Regions from separate parts of the Homo sapiens genome. Here all the other regions are linked to region 7. The links are contacts of gene promoters, found by promoter capture Hi-C in blood cells and fetal thymus (Javierre and others, 2016). All regions are on one chromosome and are shown on one strand. Each heading gives the region's core, a stretch centred on a gene start or on the middle of the fragment in contact. The rest is flanking DNA. Distances are from core to core; before and after follow the strand shown.

The links. The method cuts DNA at HindIII sites, captures the fragments that hold promoters and counts their contacts. A CHiCAGO score of 5 or more calls a contact.
Region 1: a contact is called between a fragment that was not itself captured here and the fragment with the promoter of TCF12 in region 7, in 4 of 17 cell types (fetal thymus, endothelial precursors, M1 macrophages and 1 more). The highest score is 19.5, in fetal thymus.
Region 2: a contact is called between a fragment that was not itself captured here and the fragment with the promoter of TCF12 in region 7, in 1 of 17 cell types (fetal thymus). The highest score is 8.0, in fetal thymus.
Region 3: a fragment that was not itself captured here is called in contact with the fragment with the promoter of TCF12 in region 7 in 1 of 17 cell types (fetal thymus); the score reaches 11.9 in fetal thymus.
Region 4: a contact is called between a fragment that was not itself captured here and the fragment with the promoter of TCF12 in region 7, in 1 of 17 cell types (fetal thymus). The highest score is 7.5, in fetal thymus.
Region 5: a contact is called between a fragment that was not itself captured here and the fragment with the promoter of TCF12 in region 7, in 1 of 17 cell types (fetal thymus). The highest score is 5.9, in fetal thymus.
Region 6: a contact is called between a fragment that was not itself captured here and the fragment with the promoter of TCF12 in region 7, in 2 of 17 cell types (naive CD8 T cells and non-activated CD4 T cells). The highest score is 6.3, in naive CD8 T cells.

Annotation. Positions count from the first base shown.
Region 1 is chr15:56,488,134-56,490,833 of GRCh38, forward strand. It overlaps a transcript of LOC105370832 not described here. Among named protein-coding and RNA genes, the nearest start is that of MNS1, 24 kb to the left of the region's middle. The HindIII fragment of the contact is 877 bases long and covers 904-1,780 here.
Region 2 is chr15:56,471,588-56,474,540 of GRCh38, forward strand. No RefSeq gene overlaps it. Among named protein-coding and RNA genes, the nearest start is that of MNS1, 7.9 kb to the left of the region's middle. The HindIII fragment of the contact is 370 bases long and covers 1,372-1,741 here.
Region 3 is chr15:56,537,076-56,539,775 of GRCh38, forward strand. The region is part of intron 1 of LOC105370832 (a long non-coding RNA gene); the gene reads right to left. Among named protein-coding and RNA genes, the nearest start is that of MNS1, 73 kb to the left of the region's middle. The HindIII fragment of the contact is 1,224 bases long and covers 759-1,982 here.
Region 4 is chr15:56,451,169-56,454,021 of GRCh38, forward strand. All of the region lies in intron 3 of MNS1 (meiosis specific nuclear structural 1), which reads right to left. It also overlaps a transcript of TEX9 not described here. Among named protein-coding and RNA genes, the nearest start is that of MNS1, 13 kb to the right of the region's middle. The HindIII fragment of the contact is 1,229 bases long and covers 890-2,118 here.
Region 5 is chr15:56,519,355-56,522,091 of GRCh38, forward strand. All of the region lies in intron 1 of LOC105370832 (a long non-coding RNA gene), which reads right to left. Among named protein-coding and RNA genes, the nearest start is that of MNS1, 56 kb to the left of the region's middle. The HindIII fragment of the contact is 1,188 bases long and covers 726-1,913 here.
Region 6 is chr15:57,254,635-57,257,343 of GRCh38, forward strand. The region is part of intron 16 of TCF12 (transcription factor 12); the gene reads left to right. Among named protein-coding and RNA genes, the nearest start is that of SNORD13D, 23 kb to the right of the region's middle. The HindIII fragment of the contact is 4,849 bases long and covers 1-2,709 here.
Region 7 is chr15:56,917,310-56,920,023 of GRCh38, forward strand. It overlaps TCF12 (transcription factor 12), which reads left to right and starts at 1,335. Exons shown (of 21, transcript NM_207037.2): 1 at 1,335-1,597; 2 at 2,583-2,679. The coding sequence starts at 2,605. TCF12-DT (TCF12 divergent transcript) reads right to left here and starts at 1,190. Exons shown (of 4, transcript NR_015419.2): 1 at 231-1,190. RefSeq lists silencers at 495-634, 1,155-1,284, 1,455-1,504, 1,595-1,884, 1,935-2,374. The HindIII fragment of the contact is 11,533 bases long and covers 1-2,714 here.

The DNA.
Region 1 (2,700 bases), core at 92-2,591, 430 kb before region 7:
GGTGTAAGGAATGACAAAGAGATGACTCAAATATATCTCCCAGGTGTCCTTCCTGGCATAACTGAATGAATGATGGTACCATCAGTTGGGATGGAGAACACTGGAGGAGTAGACTTGGAGGCCAGGGAAAAATAAAGACTTGTGTTTGGACGTGTTAAATCTGAGATGTCTACATCCTACTGAAGATCTTAAATAGGACACTTGTGTATATAAATCTATAGTTCAGAAGAGAAGCTGGGGCTAGAAGTATAGATCTACACATCAACTGATAAAGATGCTTTTGGAACCCATGGGACTAGGGATATCAAGGAGATCAAGGGTATAAGAGATCAAGGACTGAGCCCTGAGGAACTTCAATATTTACAGAAGTGGTTTACAACACTCCATGCCCATTGAAATTACCAGAAGATTTTTTTTTAAATGTTGAACCTCTACCCATCCTTCACATATCTGATTTAATTGGTCTGGGGTTCAGTTTGAGTATCAAGAAATTTTAAAACTCCTCAGTGATTCTAACGTGCAGCTAAGGTGGAAACCACTGATTAAAAACTGTTAATTGTAGCTGTTTGACAGGCTGAGGGGAGAATCACGTAAGCCCAGGAGGTCAAGGCTACAGTGAGCTATGTTCATACCTTACACTCCAGCCTAAGTGACAGAGCAAGACCCCATCTCTTAAAAAAATGGGAAGAGAAAGCTAAGCCAGAATTACTAGAATGAAAAGAGCCATCAGCAAGGTAGGAAGAAAACCAGGACAGTAGTATCCTGGAAGTTAAGTGAAGAGACTGTTCCAAGAATGGCATGATCAACTGTGTCAAATGCTAATGAGACATTAAGTAAAATGAGAGAGAGAGAGAGAGAGAGAGGGGAGAAGGACATGAGGGTGTGGGTGACTCAAATGTGAAAAGCTTTTATAGGATGTAGGGGTGAAGGCCTGCCCAGCACAGGCTAAAGGGAGTGGATAGTGAGAAGGCAGAGATTGCTGCTGTGTGCTGTGTCCCTTCTGCCCTGGGCCAGGGTCACTCAAATGCTAGGCTCACATCCAGCATCTCTGGCTGCTCCTTGTCCCGGGGCTTGGATGGCCAATGCCCCTCAAATAACACTATCTCAATTACTTATTCCAAAAGCCAGTCAACATTTATTCCACAGCTCATTGAATACATACTCAGCACATACATGTGCTAGTTATTGTTAGGTAGTGGGGATACAATGCCAAATAAGTTAGAGTTCTTGCTCTCATGAAACTGTCAATTCATTGAGGAAGAGGGTCACAAATAATCACAACAAAATAGCAATCTTGATTCTACTTCCCCAATGTTACTCTTCGTTCAACTCTTATTTCCACTCACCTAGTTTAGGCCTTGAAAATGAGTAATAATGTCCTAAGCAGCCTTCCTGTATCCAGTCTCTCCCTTCTTGCCAATCTAGTTTAAACCTTGCTGCCAAATTCCTCTTTCTGAAACACAACCCTGTTCATGTAATCTGTTAATTGAGGAAGCCTTCATTGAGCACCTACTAAGTACAAAAAAAATGCAAGGTCTTCCCTCCTATAATGTAGGGTCAATTTATGGCTCAAAAATCCCAATCATGTAATATCGATTAAGAAGTAAACTTAGCAGATATCTAGTCCCCACCAGAATCTCCTATATTAATCTCTCTATAAATGATAAATGGACAGCTGGATGGAGAATCCATTTTTTTAAAAGGAGCCAAATACATATTCAAGAAGCTGGAATTTTTACAATTTCTTCCTCCAGTCCCGCTTCCTGCTCAACAGAATACAAGCTTCTTCATTGCCATTCAAGACCTTCTGTAGGCCAGGCATGGTGGTTCACACCCATAATCTCAGTACTTTGAGAGGCCAAGGTGGGAGGATCGCTTGAGCCCAAGAGTTTGAGACCTGCCTGGACAACACAGTGAGACCTTGTCTCTACAATAAAATAAAATAAAAACTAGCTGGGCATTGTGGCATGCTCCTGTGGTCCCAGCTACTCGGGAGGCTGAGGTTGGAGGATTGCTTGAGCCCAGGAGTCAAGACTCCAGTGACCCACGATCATGGTACTGCACTCCAGCCTGGGTGACACAGCAAGACCCTGTCTCTTAAGAAACTAAAGTAAATGAGAAGCTGAGGCGGGAGAATTGCTTGAGCCCAGGAGTTTGAGAACAGCCTGGGCAACATGGTGACACTTCATCTCTGCAACAAATACAAAAATTAGCCTGTCATGGTGGTGTGCACCTGTAGTCCCAGCTACTCAGGAGGCTGAGGTGGAAGGGTCACCTGAGCCCAGGGAGTTTGAGGCTGCAGTGAGCCATGATCACACCACTGCACTCCAGCCTGGGCAACAGAGTGAGATCTTCTCTTAAATAAAAATAAAATAAAAAGACCTTCTGTAGTTTGACCCTAAGGCACTCATGTCTTAGTTTCTGATATTCTCCCTTTACAGTACCCTCCCTGGATGTGCTTTCACACCACCACACTTTCCCCTTATTCCACATAATCAAATATTACACATCCTTCAAAGCCAAGGTCAAGGTCCACCTTCTCCATAACACCATGCTGAGTCCCTCAGCTGACTCATTACCTCCCTCACCTGAGATCCCTCAGGCTTTACTTTTACCTTCCTTAGGGGTTTCTATCTTTGATGATTGGTGCACCTGTCCTTTTTTTCATGCCTCATTGAAAGGTCCATGAGATTTGGGCTT
Region 2 (2,953 bases), core at 307-2,806, 450 kb before region 7:
TGACCTGAACTGAGCTGATAAATTTGATCAAATCTATGACATCATCAATGATATGCACCATTATTTTATTCATCAGTAAAGAAGAAAACAATCCTACTAATTAAATTGTAGCAAATAATCTATTTAAAGATATCCCAATTTCAGAAAGGTTAAAATGCAAAAAAAAAAAGTCTTAGAATCTGTGAAAACATGGATTTTTTTTCTCTCTGGAAGTAAATTTTACTACAATGCATTTATCCTAATGCCGTGCCATCATGAGAGAGCATAAATGAGGAACTGCGATAATGGTAACTACAACAACCAAAGAGAAACCATTGCTAATCAGTCCCCACCAGCAGAATAAGATCCTAATTCCTACTCAAGTTATGTATATTTTTATCCCTCCTTGGCATCGACCAGGGCAATCGCCACACTCTGCATCAGTTAGCGTCCTCTGAGTTGCAAATGCTGGGATGGAATTGGATGGTCAAGAGGTTTATTTGGAGAAAGTCCTAAGAAAGCTAAAGAGGGAGGGGAAAAAGAGACCATAATATAGATCTAACTCATAAAAGCAGAGAGGAAAAGAAAAAGGAGCCTCAAGCAGCAGCACAATTCTGAGAGAGTTTCTACCAGGCTAATGGGAAGTCTCCAAGCAAAGACTTCCCATTAGATATGTCCCATGTTGTGTCAAAAGCCCTGGCTCTCATATCCTGGCATTGGCCAGGAGTACTTAGGGGATAGCATGGTCTCAGCATGGACGCAGCAGCAAATCTGAATGTGTAGCATCTGGAGGTTCAGGGAGGAGCACCTTCCTTGCAGCAGGTTCCCCTAAGGACAATTCTGAGCAGGGCACTTCCATGGCTGCCACACTGACATATGGCATACCACCATGCTTCCCACACTGATAGTGGCTCTCATTTCCTCTGATCTTCTCATACATCATATTTGTTATTATTGCTGCCTCACTGAGCTCTTCTCTAAAAATACTCTACATGCTAGATTTTCTGCCCACATCTTGGAATCAGACACATAGAATCCTTGAGGGATGGCATGGCCTGCAAGTACCACCTGGATTAGACATCACTCACACGGTCAAACTGCAATCCCTGTTTCCCAACATCCCACTTAAGGCAAAACACCTACTGCATCTCCTTCCCAGAGTTCGCCTGCTAAGTATGCAAATTAGGACACAGTTCTTCCCCACTCCCTTTTTACAACTGTTACTGCATAAAGAGTATGGAAAATGTTTCAAATTTTAAAAACTGAGGCTTGAAAACCCTTACAAGAAAACATTCGTGAGATGAATGTCCAGGTATTTTATAAAAGACTATAACAAAAGAACCATCTGTGTTCAAATAGTATGTCATGATCAGAAACACAGAAACTCATACAAGCTTTAAGGATGCAATACTGAATCAATTTATAGGGTACGGTGGCAAGAATAGACAGTATCTTTGACCTTGAACAAGTCATTTAACCTCCCTGATGTCTATTTCCTCTTCTATAAAATGAAGAGGATAGGGTAGAATATCCTTGAGGCCTCATGTAGCACTAACATTCTGTGAAATAAAAGTCAACTTAGAGATTAATTGGGTTTCTGAGCCTCAAGCAATTAATTACACTGTCGCTGCCCTTTAACAGACCTGTCATAGAAGAAAATTAGATTAAACTGACAGATTTTAATCTTCACCAACTCATGTTGATTTTAAGTCCAACATTATTTTTTAAGATTGCAAATTAATGCTTTCACAAAAGGTTCAAAAGCTTTCAGGCCAAGAAATTTGACCTGATAGACACATTGTAATACTTAAACCATTCTTTTCTATTTAAAAAAAGTTGTACTGACTTCCCCCCACCGCCCCCCTCCCCCCTAGTATTCAGAACCTCAGCAGGCACTCTGCTAGAGTTTTATGAAATGACAGTGGTTTTAGGAAGTTCTTCACCAATTTCTGAAATTCTCAAGGATATCTGTGATCAGGGAATTTAATTCTGCCCACGTCTACTTTATCTAATTCCATTATGTTCTCTTTATTTTTCTTTGGCTTTCTGCCTGCCTTCCCTTCCCTTGCCTTTACCTGTACTTGGGTCAACATTGAATTATTAATAGAAAGACATGTTGGTTTATTTTCTAGCAAATTTTTTAGTAAAAAAAAATCAGTTTGGATTTCCAGTTAATAGAGAAGTATCTCATCATATCCTCCCTTTTTTTTTTCTTTTTTTTTTTGAGATGGAGTTGTTGCCCAGGCTGGAGTGCAGTGGCGTGATCTAGGCTCACTGCAACCTCCACCTCCCAGGTCAAGTGATTCTCCTGCCTCAGCCTCCCGAGTAGCTGGGACTACAGGCACCTGCCACCATGCCCAGCTAATTTTTGTGTTTTTTGGTAGAGATGTGGTTTCACCATGTTGGCCAGGCTGGTCACGACCTCCTTACGACAAGTGATCTGCCTGCCTTGGCCTCCCAAAGTGCTGGGATTACAGGCATGAGCCACCATGCCCAGCCCATGCACTCCTTTTAATGCTTATGTATTTAAGCAGTACTGATATTTTCTATGTTTCTCTTAAATATTATAGTTCATATCTACTTTAGATTTAAAAATTAAATCTCAAAAGTTCTAGTTTATTGAACTTTGATTTCCAATATCCAGTTTCTACTTCTGTGTCATGTTTATTTGCACCAATAATATCTCTGACATACAGAAAGGTGAGAAGAATAATATAAACACCCATGTATCCATAATCTGACACAAGAAAAAATGTGGAACCTGGCTCTGTGCATCAGAGCACCTCTCCTGTCTCATTTCTTCCACCCAGAGATAACATTGTACTGTATTTAATAGTGTTTATCATTCTTGTGCATGCCTTTATACTTTCAACTTGTAAGAGATATGTGATACTATTTTGCATGCTGTAATAAGATGGAGTCATATTTCTGCAAATCTCTTTAGACACCATGTTTGTGAGAATATTCCACTGTA
Region 3 (2,700 bases), core at 121-2,620, 380 kb before region 7:
CTGTAATCCTAGCATTTTGAGAGGCCAAGGCGGGCGAATCACTTGAGTTCAGAACTTTGAGACCAGCCTGGGCAACATGGCAAAGCCCCATCTCTACCAAAAAAAAAATACAAAAAATTACCAAGGTGCCGTGGTATGTGCCTGTAGTCCCAGCTACTTGGGAGGCTGAGGTGGGAGAATCATCTGAGCCTGGGAAGTCAAGGCCGCAGTGAGCCATGATTGTGCCACTGCACTCCAATGTAGATGTTAGAGTGAGACCCTTTCTCCAAAATAAAAATTAAATTAAAAAAAAATCTCTTTGCCATCCTATTTGAAAATCCCTACATATCTTTTACACCCAAGCTCAAAGATATTCTCTCCTATGACATCTTTCTTGGGCAGGTAAATCAGTTCCTCCATCGTGTTTCCAGGATATGTTTTACACATTTATTGCCTTATATTGGGATTGAGTGTTGCCTTCCCATTAAGATGAACTCCCAGAGAGGAGTGATGGCATTTAATCATCTATGAATCATCAAAGTTTAGTCCACAGTAGGTGCTCCATACATACTTAATTAACAAATGAATGAATGAATAAAGCATTGCAATTTTTAAGGGAAGAAGCAGATGAGGACTTAGCAGGTGAGAAAGTTCCAAACAAAGTGCTAATGAATACTCCAGCCACTTTCTTGCAGAAGTTCATCTTTCACTTCCAGGCATTTGATTCTCAACATTTCTGTCCTTTTCCAAATTAGAGCTGTAACCCAGGTAAGTGTCAAAGCTTAGAAAAACCATGGGAAAAACCTTGGGATCCTGATAAATTTGAAGACAAACTTAAACTTCAGTGAAGTGACAACATTGCCTGCTTAGGTTATTTCTTTATGCATTTAAGAGAGGTTTATCTCTCCAAACCCAGCTGTGGTTTGATCTCACACTTCCTTCACACTTGCTTCAACACCTGTTAACCACAACCATGAGGCTGCCGGGCCTGGCTTCATCTTGCTTTCTGGCTGTTGCTACAATGGTGTAACCGCGGCTCCGCAGCTGCTATGTTGGCAGTCACTCCAGGGGCTGGGGCCTGGCTTCTGCCTTTGGGGAGCTTTAACAGTCACACAGGTCTTGGTGCAATAGATGCTTCCCTTCTTCTGGCTCCCACAGCCTTTTGCTCATCTGTCCTTGCAAAGCCTATCATATTTCACTGTAGTTAGCTCATGTGTATCTATTGCCCTCACTGTGAGGAAAGGACCATGTCCTACTCATTTTTCTCTCACACTTACCAGTGCTGGCACTGGAAGGAAAGAATGAAAACTGAGTGACCACATGAATTAATGAAACATTCTCCTTAAAATTATTTGTTGGAACTTTAAATAAAACACTCATCATCCTATCAGTTATTACACCCCCCCCAAAATGATACTTCTGATTTAGTGTAATTGGTTGCTTTTTCCCTCCCCCTTCACCCTGGAAACAAGTAATCTTTCTTGATTATCAACATCTATTCCCTAATACAAAAATAGAAAAGAAAAACATGGACTTGTTATAAACCTACTGATGGCTTCCTCTCCGAGAGCTACCTTTGTACATCTCTAAATAATATTTAACAATATTTGATTTCCTCAACCTCTCAGATTAGTGTGTCTGAGACATTATGTGGACACTGTGCATACTGCTTATGTATCTGAGCATATCTAATTCCATTAATGGCATGAATATAATGATGCTCCATTTAAAAAATATTACATGCAATTTTTTCATTTGGAGAATGGAATGCTTCTGGCTTTTTGGGGTCTTGAGAATTAAGTATCTCTTTGGAATCTTCAGGAAATTAGGTAAAATACTGAAAGTTTATCATGCATTTTAGAAATAAGGATGCCAGGTTATTCTCCACTTGAATGATCTATTTTGACTCACCTAAATTTAACTCTTCATTTCCAAGTCAGATCAGAGAGTGCTCACGGGCATGGTAAGGTGGGAAGTGAGGGCTTCGGCTCAAACCAGACTTAAGCTTGCTGAGCATCTTGACCACATTAGTAAACTCTTTTCTCTTCAGGTCTGTGAAGCAGGGATAATATTACTGACTGCAGAGGGTTACTGTGAAAATTAAAAGACAACATTGCATGCATAACATTCTTAGCTGTATTTTGTGAAACAGCATTCCCTCTACTGAAGTTAGTATCCTTCCTTTCCTCATTTACTGGTCACCAACAATGCTTCTTTTCCCAACAGGGTGCACTGTAGTGTTGATACGCAAGTATCACTTCCTATAGAACGGGGAAGTTGAGGTGTGTGCATTATACAGTTACACAGTTGAAGCAAATGTTAAGAACAATTCCCCGGTATTTTGATATAACGCACTCTGGGACCTTCTGGTTCTTCTCTAGTGGCGGTGCCTTTATTCAGTCCAGAGACTTCTCCTCTTAGCCTCAGTCTCTGAGATTACTACTTCACCCACACTCCTTTTCTCCTCAACCTCCAGACCTCAGGAGCAGGTTCTTGTCTTTGCTTTTCTTCTCCACATTCCCGCCAGCTCAGCCAGCAGCCTCCCTGGGTTCTCCTCACAGAAAAACCTCCGGTTTTCGTAGTCCAGACTCCACTTCTCTGATCTGAGGCTGTTCCCCGGATCACACCCTGAGTGTCATTCTCCTTAGCTCTTCCCGAGCAAACACTCTTGTCCTCAGAATGTCAGGTTCTCCTTGATAGGGTGTTTCTCTACCTTCTCCA
Region 4 (2,853 bases), core at 254-2,753, 470 kb before region 7:
TGAGTGAGGTAAAACAGATAAGTGCCTTGTGTTAGTTTTTCACGTAGTCCCAAGGTAGGTTAGAACAGATATACCCAACAATTTGTGAATAAGATCTGCTCTGCTCCTCCTGAACCAGGGACCAGGGTCCTGCATTGGGAACAAGGGCTACCTGCCTCTGAGCTAGGAGGGAATGAGGAAAGGGCAAGTGAAGATACCACAGAACTTTACTACCATTTTTAGGCTTTTTCTTGTTTCAGCATTTGCTTGATTGCAATAAACCTTTGAATGCTACCCAAATTTCTTATAAAATTGGTTCTGAGAGTTTCTGCTTGTTTTCTGATGTTTGTAGTCGGGGGATGGGCTGGGAGGAGAGACAGGAGCTGGGAGCTGCCTACTCTGCTATTTTGCTAATATCAGTCCAATCCTGCAACTTTTAGTATGTGGTATTTTCATTATTATTCAGTTAAAAATACTTTCTAATTTCAATTTTGATTATAGACAGTCTCTGATTAATGATGGTTTGACTTTACAATGGTGAGAAAACCATATGCATTCACAGTAGGTTCCTCAATTCATGATGGGATGCATCCCAATAAACCTGTCGTAAATTGAAAATGTAGTTTATTGGGACATGAACCCATCGTACATCAAGGAGCATCTGTACTTTTTGACCAAAGGGTAATGTGAAGCACATTTTTAAATACCTAAGCATATAAAGATTGCCTAGATTTTTTTTTATTACTTACGTCTAGTTTAATTCCACTATGGACAGAGAAAATACTATGTATAAATTGATTCCTCTGAAAATCTGTTGATATTTTTATTCTGATACAACATTTCATCAATTTTGGCAAATGGTTCAAATATGTTTACTATAACTACTAATATAATTGGGTTTCCATTTACAAGCTTATATCTTCTTTCTACTTGTCTTCCCTGTCCTATGTTCTCTCTTCTCTCCTGTTTGCTTCTGTGTTGGGGGTTCCCAAGACCACCATCAGGTTAGATGATTCACTAGGAGGATACAGGACTCAGCATATAGTTATACTCACGGCTATGACTTACTATAAAGAAACGAAACACAGCAAAATTGGCAAAGGAAAAAGGCACATGGGTGAAATTCAGAGAAAACTAGGTGCAAAAGGCCTCTACCTGTGGAAACACACAGGACACGCTTAATTCCCCGAGCAATGAGTTGTGACGTGTGAAATGCCTGGCAGACAACATTAGAGCTCATCAGAACTCAGTGCTCTGGGTTCTTATTGGGGGTGGTAACTTAGGCACCCTCTACTTAGAACGTACCAATATTCCAGACTCCCAGAAAGAAAATGGGTATTCAGTATAATCCATATTGTTTTGTTTTCTTTTTTTCTTTTTTTTTTTTTTGAGACAGAGTCTCTCTCTGTCGCCCAGGCTGGAGTGCAGTGGCGCGATCTTGGCTCACTGCAAGCTCCGCCTCCCAGGTTCAAGCGATTATCCTGCCTCAGCCTCCCAAGTAGCTGGGACTACAGGCGTGTGCCACCAGGCCCGGCTAATTTTTTGTATTTTTAGTAGAGACGCGGTTTCACCGTGTTAGCCAGGATGGTCTCGATCTCCTGACCCTGCGATCCACTCACCTCGGCCTCCCAAAGTGCTGGGATTACAGGCATGAGCCACCGCACCCGGCCTAATCCATATTGTTTTCACATTTTAGCCACAGTGAATCATCCTCAGCAGTTAAGGTGGTAAGAACCTTCTCAAAAGCCTAGTTTCCAGAAACCAGCCAAAGACCAAACTTGCAAGGAGGACTTTCTAAGATAGCCTCAAGCCTGCTATGTTAACTCTTTTTTACATGAGTTTTTTGGAATAATCAATTCCTATTATCGTATTTTATTCTCTATTAGTCAGTTATATTTTCTTTTCCAAATTTTTATTACAGATATTACAGCATGTTTCTTTGTTTCCAGGTGAATAAATTTATTCATTATTATTTGACAATGCAAGATTCTTGACTTTAACTTCATTTACTTCCTATCTCATTTTGTCATATTTTTAACTCTTTACATATTTTAATTCCCAAAAGACATAATAAATATTTTATACATTCAAATATCAACTAAATTTACTATACATGTACCTCTTGCAGTTCTGAAATTAAGCTTGGGATCATTTTTCTTCTTCTATTAATACCTAATGAAGAACTGCTAGTATTCCCTTTAATGCAGGATTATTGGTGATCAATCTTCTGTTTTTGTTTCTCAGAAAATGTTATTTTGTGCTCTTTTAATCTATCTCATCTATTTTATGAATTAACAGCTTGATTATCAGTCCAGAACATAATTATACTGGTATAAGCTAGGTAATGGTAATAGTATTAAGAAGGAAAAACTGTCTCTGTCTTTTCTTTGAAATGGTTTTTGCTGAACTTAAATATAAATGAGATATGAGGTACTTGCTTTTGCTTTCATAACAGTATGTGTTAACTGTGTAATAAATACATTTAGTTAATTGGGCAATTAATTATAACTACTAATTGTTTAGTGCCATAATTTAAAATAGGATTTCTAAAAATAAACAGTGAGTTTCCCAACTCCAGTTAAAAACAGCAGCAAAGTTAAATTATCTTTTAAGTACTTTCTTGGATTACAAAACCATGTGTTCCAAAATCAATTAACAGGAGTCATGATTTCTGAGCTCAAAGAAATATTTTCAAAATAAACTTCAATGATTTTTTAAATGTGCCGTGCATTTAAAAAATTAATTTCTTTTACATTAAAAAAGCTAAATCTTAATATAGGTGATTTTAAATAAATTAGGACACATTTTAAGCACCAGAGCAGTTCCCTGAATTTAGACATGCCAATTTGAAATACAGTCCATTTCTGCATGACA
Region 5 (2,737 bases), core at 70-2,569, 400 kb before region 7:
GAAAAAATCTGAATACTGTGACACTATTTGTTAATTTGAGATCTTTCTAGCTCTCCAGCAATGGTCACTAACCAAAATGGAAATTCAGAAATGACAAATAAAGAATTCACAGCATGGGTATCAAGGAAGCTCGATAAATTTCAAGACAAGGTTGAAAATCTACACAAAGAAACTTCTAAACAATCCAGGAAATGAAGGAAGAGATAAACATCTTTAAAAAATCAATCAGAGCTTCTGAACTTAAAAAATTCACATAAGGAATTTCTCAATACAATTGAAAACTTTATCAATAGAGTAGACCAAGTAGAAGAAAAAATTTCAGAGCTTGAAGATCAATCTGTCAAACTAATCCATTCAGAAAAAAAAAATAAGAATTTTAAAAAATAAACAAGTCTTTGAGAAAGGTAGGATTATATAAAGTGAAAAAATCTACAAATTATTGGCATTCCTGAGAAGGAGAAAAGGTAAACAACCTGGAAAACCTATTTGAGGGAATAATCCAAGAAAATTTCCCTAATCTTGCTAGACGGGTAGACATCCAGGTACAAGAAATACATATAATATCAGCAAGATACTATACAAAACAATCATCACCAAGGCATAAAGTGACAAGACTGCCCCAAGTCAACACTAAGGAAAAAATCCTAAGGGCAGCTAGAGAAAAAGGTTAGATGACCTACAAAGGGAGCCTCATCAGGATAACAACAGACTTCTTAGCAGAAGAAAGCTTACACAAGTCAGAAGAGATTGGGGGCCTACTCAGCATTCTTAAAGAACACAAATTCCAACCAAGAATTTTATATCCCATCAAACTAAGCTCCATAAACAAAGGAAAAATAAAATCTTTTCCAGACTAGCAGCTACTAAGGTAAATTTTTACCACTAGACCACCCTAACAAGAGATCCTCAAGGTTTTAAACATGGAAACTAAAGAACTGTATCTGCTACCACAAAAACACACTTAAGTACATAGTCCACAAACCCTATAAAGCAACTACACAATAGATACTGCAAAGCAACCAGCTAACAACTTCACAATAGGATGAAAACCTCACATAGCAATGCTAACTTTGAATGTAAATGGTCTAACTGCCCCATCAGAAAGGCACACAGTGGCAAGTTAAATTAAAAAAGAAAGCAAGATCCATCCATCTTCTATCTTCAAAAGGCCCATCTTACACTTAATGATATCCATGGGCACAGAGGAAAGGATTGGAGAAAGATCTATTACAACAAACAGGAAAAAAAAAGAACATGGTTTGCTATTCTTGTATCAGATAGACTTGAAATCAACAACAGTAAAAAAGGACAAAGAAAGGCATTACACAGTGATAAAAGGTTTAATTCAACAAAAAGATTTAATTATCCTAAATATATATGCACTTAATATTGGAGTACTCAGATTCATAAAACAAGTACTTCTAGACCTATGAAAAAACTTAGATATCCACACATTAATAGTGAGGGACTTCAACATCCCACTCAAAGTGTTAGATCATCAAGACATAAAATTAACAAAGAAATTCTGGACTTAAATCAATTTGGCCAATTGTACCTAATAGACATCTACAGACTACTTCACCCATCAACCATAGAATATACATTCTTATCTGTATGTGGAACATAATTTAAGATCAACCACATGCTTGGTCATAAACCAAGTCTCAACACATTTTTAAAAATTGAAATCATACCAACTTACCTTGGACCACAGTGGAATAAAAATAGAAATAAATACCAAGAAGATCCCTCAAAAACCACACAATTAAATGGAAATTAAACAACTTGCTCCTGAATGACTTTTGGGTAAACAACAACATTAAGGCAAAAATAGAAATCCTTTTAAGTAACTGAAAACAGAGACACAACATATCAGAATCTCTGGCATGTAGCAAAAGCAGTGTTAAGAGGAAAGCTTTTCACACTAAACACCTACATAAAGAAGTTAGATCTCACATTAACAATCTAACATCACATCTAGAGGAACTAGAAAAACTGGAGCAAACTAAGCCCAAAGCTAGCAGAAAATTTTTTTAAAAAGCTATAATCAGAGCAGAACTGAAGGAAATTGATATCCAAAAATTCATCCAAAGAATTAACAAAACTAAGAGTTTGTCTTTTGAAAGGATAAACGAGATCAATAGAATGCTAGCTAGATTAACAAAGAAAAAAGAGAGAAGATCCAAATAAGCACAATCAGAAACAACAAAGGTGACATTACAACCAATCCCACAGAAATGCAAAAGATCCCAGAGACTATTATTAACACTTCTATGCACATAAACTAGAAAATCTAGAGGAAACGGAAACACACAACCTGCCAAGATTGAATCAGGAAGAAACTGAAACTGCAAACAGATCGATATAGGGTTCCAAAATTGAATCCATCATAAAAAAAAATTGCCAACCAAAAAAAGCCCTGGGCCAGAGGGATTCATATCCAATTCTACCAGATGTACAGAGAACTGGTATCAATTCTACTGAAACTATTCCAATAAATCAAGGAGAAGGGACTCCTCCCTAACTTATTCTACAAAGCTAGCATCACCCTGATACCAAAACCTAGCAAAGACACAATGAAAAAAGAAAACTACAGGCTAGTATCCCTGATGGACATAGATGCAACCTATGTTGAGGAACCTAGTAGTCCTCAACAAAATATTAGCAAATCAATCAAACAGCACATTAAAAAGGTAATTCACCATAATCAAGTAGGCTTAATTCATGGTATGCAAGT
Region 6 (2,709 bases), core at 210-2,709, 340 kb after region 7:
AGGATTGGTTGGAGTTCCAAGACTAGTCTGGGCAACAAAGTGAGACCCTCATCTCTACAAAAAATAAAAAAAAATTAGTCTGGCACAGTGGCATGCGCCTGTGGTCCCAGCTACATGGAAGGTTTAGGTGGGAGGATCTCTTGATCCCAGGAGGTCAAGGCTGCAGTGAGCCATGTTCATGCTACTGCACTCCAGCCTAGGCCATAGAGCATGACCCTGTCTCAAAAAAAAAAAAAAAAAAAAGAAAGAAAGAAAAAAATATGAGAGGGTATTGTTATCACTGCTGGTAATAGTAATGAAATAATTTTAATGGTATAATAAAAGGAATTTGTTACAAATGTGAATGCAGAATAACTTAATAATTTGTTGAAATACTATTTATCCTTATTTAGAAGCATGACTTAAAAATCAATATTCTTGAATTTTAAGTTAGTCTCAGCAGCAACATTTGCAGTTCTTATTCCTTACCTCTTAATGATTTTTTAATTCTTCACTTTTACTAGCTTACTGCTCCTATTCCAACTTATCAGCTACAGTATTTATTATATATCTGGCTCCTCCCAGTTGGAGTTTGCATAAAATGGAACTTCTGTCTTGAGAAAGTTGTTTTTTTACCAATTTCAGATATTCCATAATAGAAAGGGAGACTTATCAAAATGTAGTCCTCCAAAGCCACCTAGAAACCTAGTGCATTTTAGAAGACTGTTAGAGGGAAAAACTCTTTCATTGGATGGCACCCTAAAACTTATAACTAAGAAAGTAGCTCCTACTATATGCTGAAGGAATGCACTGCCCACTTCAGAACAACAACAGAAGGTCTGCCAGAGGTATTTTTTTGTTGTTGTTTTTTGTTTTGTTTTGCTTTTAGAGATGGAGTCTCACTCTGTGGCCCAGGCTGGAGTGCAGTGCCGTGATCTCGGCTCACTGCAATCTCTGCCTCCCAGATTTAAGCAATTCTCCTGCCTCAGCCTCCCGAATAGCTGGGATTATAGGCACCCGCCACCACGTCCGGCTAATTTTTCTGTTTTTAGTAGAGATGGGGTTTCACCATATTGGCCAGGCTGGTCTCAAACTCCTGACCTTGTGATCCGCCCACCTCGGCCTCCCAAAGTGCTGGGATTACAGGTGTGAGCCACTGCACCCGGCCAGAGATATTCGTAAAAAGAAAAAAAAAATCTCAAATTAGTCTAGAAAAAATGGTCTTCTGAGACATGAAGTGAGTCTGGCTTAGTCTGAGCTGCAACATTAGTGCCACAGCAACTAGCCCAAGCTGTTGTTCAGTGTGTCTGTCACAGCCTTCTCTTCAGTCCTTATCACCTTCTCAGCGGGTACAGAGCTGTGGAAAATCTGCCAGAAATCATCTGCTATCTTCATCTCATCCAGACACAATCACTAGTACTTTTAGTAGTGGAGATAAGATGTATCTGGCAGGCTTAGCCTCAAAATATAAAGTTACTAGCTGACAAAATCTGACACTGTTAGGTGAGTCAGTATTCATCTCCTGTCCTTCTGAAGTAAGCCTTTTAGCTGTTGAGTCCTCAGTTCTCAGCTTCAGCAAAAAGACCAAAGGATGGAATGAAATGAAGATTAGTCTGCCACTGACTATCCCCGCAGAGTCTTAGGCATGTTATTGAGGAAGACTGTCTTATCGTGGTGGTTCTTTTCCGTGTCTGAGGGCTTCCATTAGTACTGCTGGGATCACTTTATTTACATGCTCAGCACCCACCTATATGGAATCAACTCTTCATATTCTTTCAGAGTGTGTGATTTTGGGGGCATGTTTTTGTAACTCTTGCCAACTGGCTCCAAGAGTTAATCTCCAGCTTTTATTGTCCCCTTGTCACAACAATACATCCTCCTAACTAATCATGACTAAGAAATAATGTGGTTTTACATTCTGGAATCGATTCCCCACCCCCACCCCCACCCCGCCCCACCTTGTTTTTGGTCTCTTATAACTTTCCAGAAGTTTGTCGATTTTTTCCGGAATTAACATAAGTTAGTATTTGTTTTGGGCTCCTAATAATGGAGGCTATATGGCCAGACTTACAAAGTGATCACAGAAATACTTGTTGATCAGCAATTTGGTACCACCATATAGAATTCATGAGGTCAGCTTCTTTCAAAGACATTTGCCTTTCATTATTCCATTTGTTTATTGCAGAGAATAGAAGTATTCTGATAAACGTAGATATTTTCAGGACCTCCACAGAGCATTCAGATGACATTTTTGTTATAATGGAACTTTATCCTAATGGGCAGCATCCTAATTGTAGGGTTTAAATATATCACTCTTCCTCCTAGCATTTAGAAAAGGGTTTGATATGCTTTTTCTATAAAGGGCCAGAGAGTAAATATTTTCAGCTTTGTAGGCTGTATAGTCTCTGTCACAACTACTTAACTCTGACAATGTAATGTGAAAGCAGCTATAGATAATATGAAAACAGATGGGCACGGCTGTATTCCAATAAAACTTTATTTACAAAAACAAGCTCCTTTATTTACAAAAACATAGGTCAAGATTTGGCTACAGGCCAGACCTTGGGAATTCCTGCTTATAAATTGGCACCTAAGCAGATATAATGGGGTTAGCATGTTTTTCTTTTTCTTGGAGCCTATAACGTTTGGCTTATGTTAATGAGTAGTTTGAGAGTTTTATTGAAGTAATTGGAATACTTGAGGCAAGCCAGGATCCACTGGTAGTGGAAG
Region 7 (2,714 bases), core at 85-2,584:
TTTCTTTGGATGATTATTTCCTAAATACACCTTAACAACTATTCACATAGCATTTGCATTGTATTAGGTTTTATAAGTAATCTAGATATGATTTAAAGTATATGGGGAAACACACCATTTTTATGTAAGAGACTTGAACATCTTAGAAAATCCAGAGTCTGGGAACCAATCCCACGGATATAGAGACAACTGTACTAACTACAGTAATGGCATATGGTAGCTGAATCTACCTCTCTTTCCATCCCAGTCCGGAATCCAAAGGCTCCTTCTTGCCATGTTGTCCTCGGGCGTTGGCTGCTTCCTCCCATTTGTTACTTTGGAAGTGTCTTCTTTCCTCAGTGTTTCTTCTGCGTGGGCCTTACCGGTCTTTACTGCACTCACTTACCTAAGAGGCAAAACAATGGCTGCCATTCAAGAAAATCTCACTTCAGCCCAGAATCGAAGAACTGGGGCTTATTTTGTCTTCTTTCTACTCTGGGGCTTCTCTGAGGCCAAGTTCAGAACTTGTGCACAAGACAGTGGCTGTGTGACAGAGCCACCCAGGGCTGTCTCCGTTAGATGAAGAGACTGGCTTGATCCATTCCCAAGAACTAGTCCCACGTGCAGTTCGGTTGCTCCGAATGGGATTTGGGTGCGAGGGGCTGACTGGAGATGTGGGGTCTGGGTGAGTGGGGTATTTGAGAACCTGAAGCTCACAAGGCTTTGTCTGGTTTGAGGTACGTTTTGCCCTTTCTCCCGCATTCGGCTCTGCATCGAATCTGACCGGCCGCGCCTACTCTCGGAACGGCCGAGGAGGATGGGTCTCCCGTCTCCACACGCGCGGTGTCTGCGCCGACTGCAGCCCTCCTGGACGGGAGCCTCTGGGCCCAGCTTAGGGTGGCGTCCAGCGTGACCTACTCGGGAATGGCAGCCTTCAGTGTCCTGCGGCCTCGGGTTCCGGGAAGCTCGGGGACCTGGGCAGCGGATCCAGATGCTTCCACAGCTGTGTCTCCGTCGCTCCGCTTCGGGGGCCGAGAACCAGCAAGACCAACGCGAGGAGGCGCCACGGTACCTGCCACCCCGCTCCCAGGAGGCCCGGACGAGGCTTCGTCGGCGAGCGGTCGGGGCCTGCTTCTCGAGGTGCCTGCGAGCGCCTCATGCCCCTCCCCACCGGCCCCAACTCCGTCCCGCCTCACCCGACCGCGGGCTTTGTCCACCCGCCGCGGTGCGGCTCCTCCCAGTCCCCGACAGCTCCTCCCCGCCCCCTCTGCCGGCCCCACTTCCTAGGCGGCGGAGCGGGTCGGGGAGGGAAGGGTTAACCCGCGGCTCTTCCCGGCGCGGAGGGATCCGGAGGCGAGCCGAGCGCGGTGGTGAGGCCGCCTCAGCGAAAAAAATGTCCGCCTGAAGAGACCCACAAGTTCTATTCGGGGGGACCGACAGCCCGCCCCGGGAGGAAGGGGCGGCCAGGCCCGAAAGCCGCCTCCCCCTCCCAGACCCGAGAGCTCGTGCGGGGCAAAGTGAACCGAGCCGCTGGGCGGTGCAAGGGGAAGCCCAAGCCCGTTCTCCCGGCCAAAGTGAACTTTAATCGGGGTGGTTGGATGCGGAGACGGGGCGGCAGGTAATTGCGGGCTAGCGAGCGGGAGTGGGGCGGCGCGGCGGGGCTGGGGGCTGCGGGGCGCCGCCGCGTCCCTGCCGGAGTGGGGGCGCCCCCGTCCCCCGCCTCAACTCCGCGCCCCTTTGTACAGCGCGAAACCCGGGGTCCCCTCCAAGTTGGGGAGCGGAGTGGGGGCGGAGGCTCGAGTCGCGGGCGCTCAGGCCCGCTGGCGGCGCGCTCGGCCTGTGCGCCCCGTTCGGTGCCCGACTCGGGCCGGCGCCCAGGCTCCGGGGCGCGCGGGAGATCGGGCGGCTTCGGCCGCGGAGCCAGGCTCATTGTTCGGCAGGTCCGGGGCAGGGCAGCAAAAGTGGGAGGAGGCCGAGCCTGGGGAGGAGGACGCCGGCCGAGAGCGAGACTAGTTGTCGGGGTTTCTGTTTTCTGTTTAAAAACGCCCCTTGGATGAGCTGGGGGTGCTTTCCGACCTCCTGGGCCCGCCGGGGACGTCCGGGCGGCGGCGGCCGCAGACGCGGGCCTGCGAGCGGCGCGTTCCCTGCAACTTGTCAGTTCTATTGTTGCCGAGCGAGTGAGTCACTTCGCATCTCCGCTCGCCGCCGCTCCGCTCGCTGGACGCCGAATTGCCCCTCACCCCGCTCCTCGAGACCCCAGCCGCGGCCGGGCCCGGCGCGCGGAGCACCCGGCGGCGGCGCGGAGCAGGGGGCGCCGAGGAGGTGGCAGAGACTGGCTCGGAAACTTGGGGGAGAGGCGGCGAGTTGCGGGAGCCGCCGCGTCGATCTCGGGCCGCGGCGAGGAACGCGTGGATTCCGGGACCCGGCGCGGGCACTGAGCCCTCCCGCCCCTTGCTCGCGCCGCGGTGGGAGCGAGTCGGGGTCCTGGAAGTCATCCCGGCGCCCCCAGCGCTCTTGCGTAATCTTCCCCAGTACCTCTCTCTGTTCCCTCACACACTTTGGGCCTCGGTGGTCTCTCGCTGAGCCCGTTTCCTCTGCCCTAGGACCTGCTAGAAGTGGCCGAAGATGAATCCCCAGCAACAACGCATGGCCGCTATAGGGACCGACAAGGAGCTGAGCGACCTACTGGACTTCAGTGCGGTATGAGAGCTTTCCATGGCATCTTGGGGTTCTGC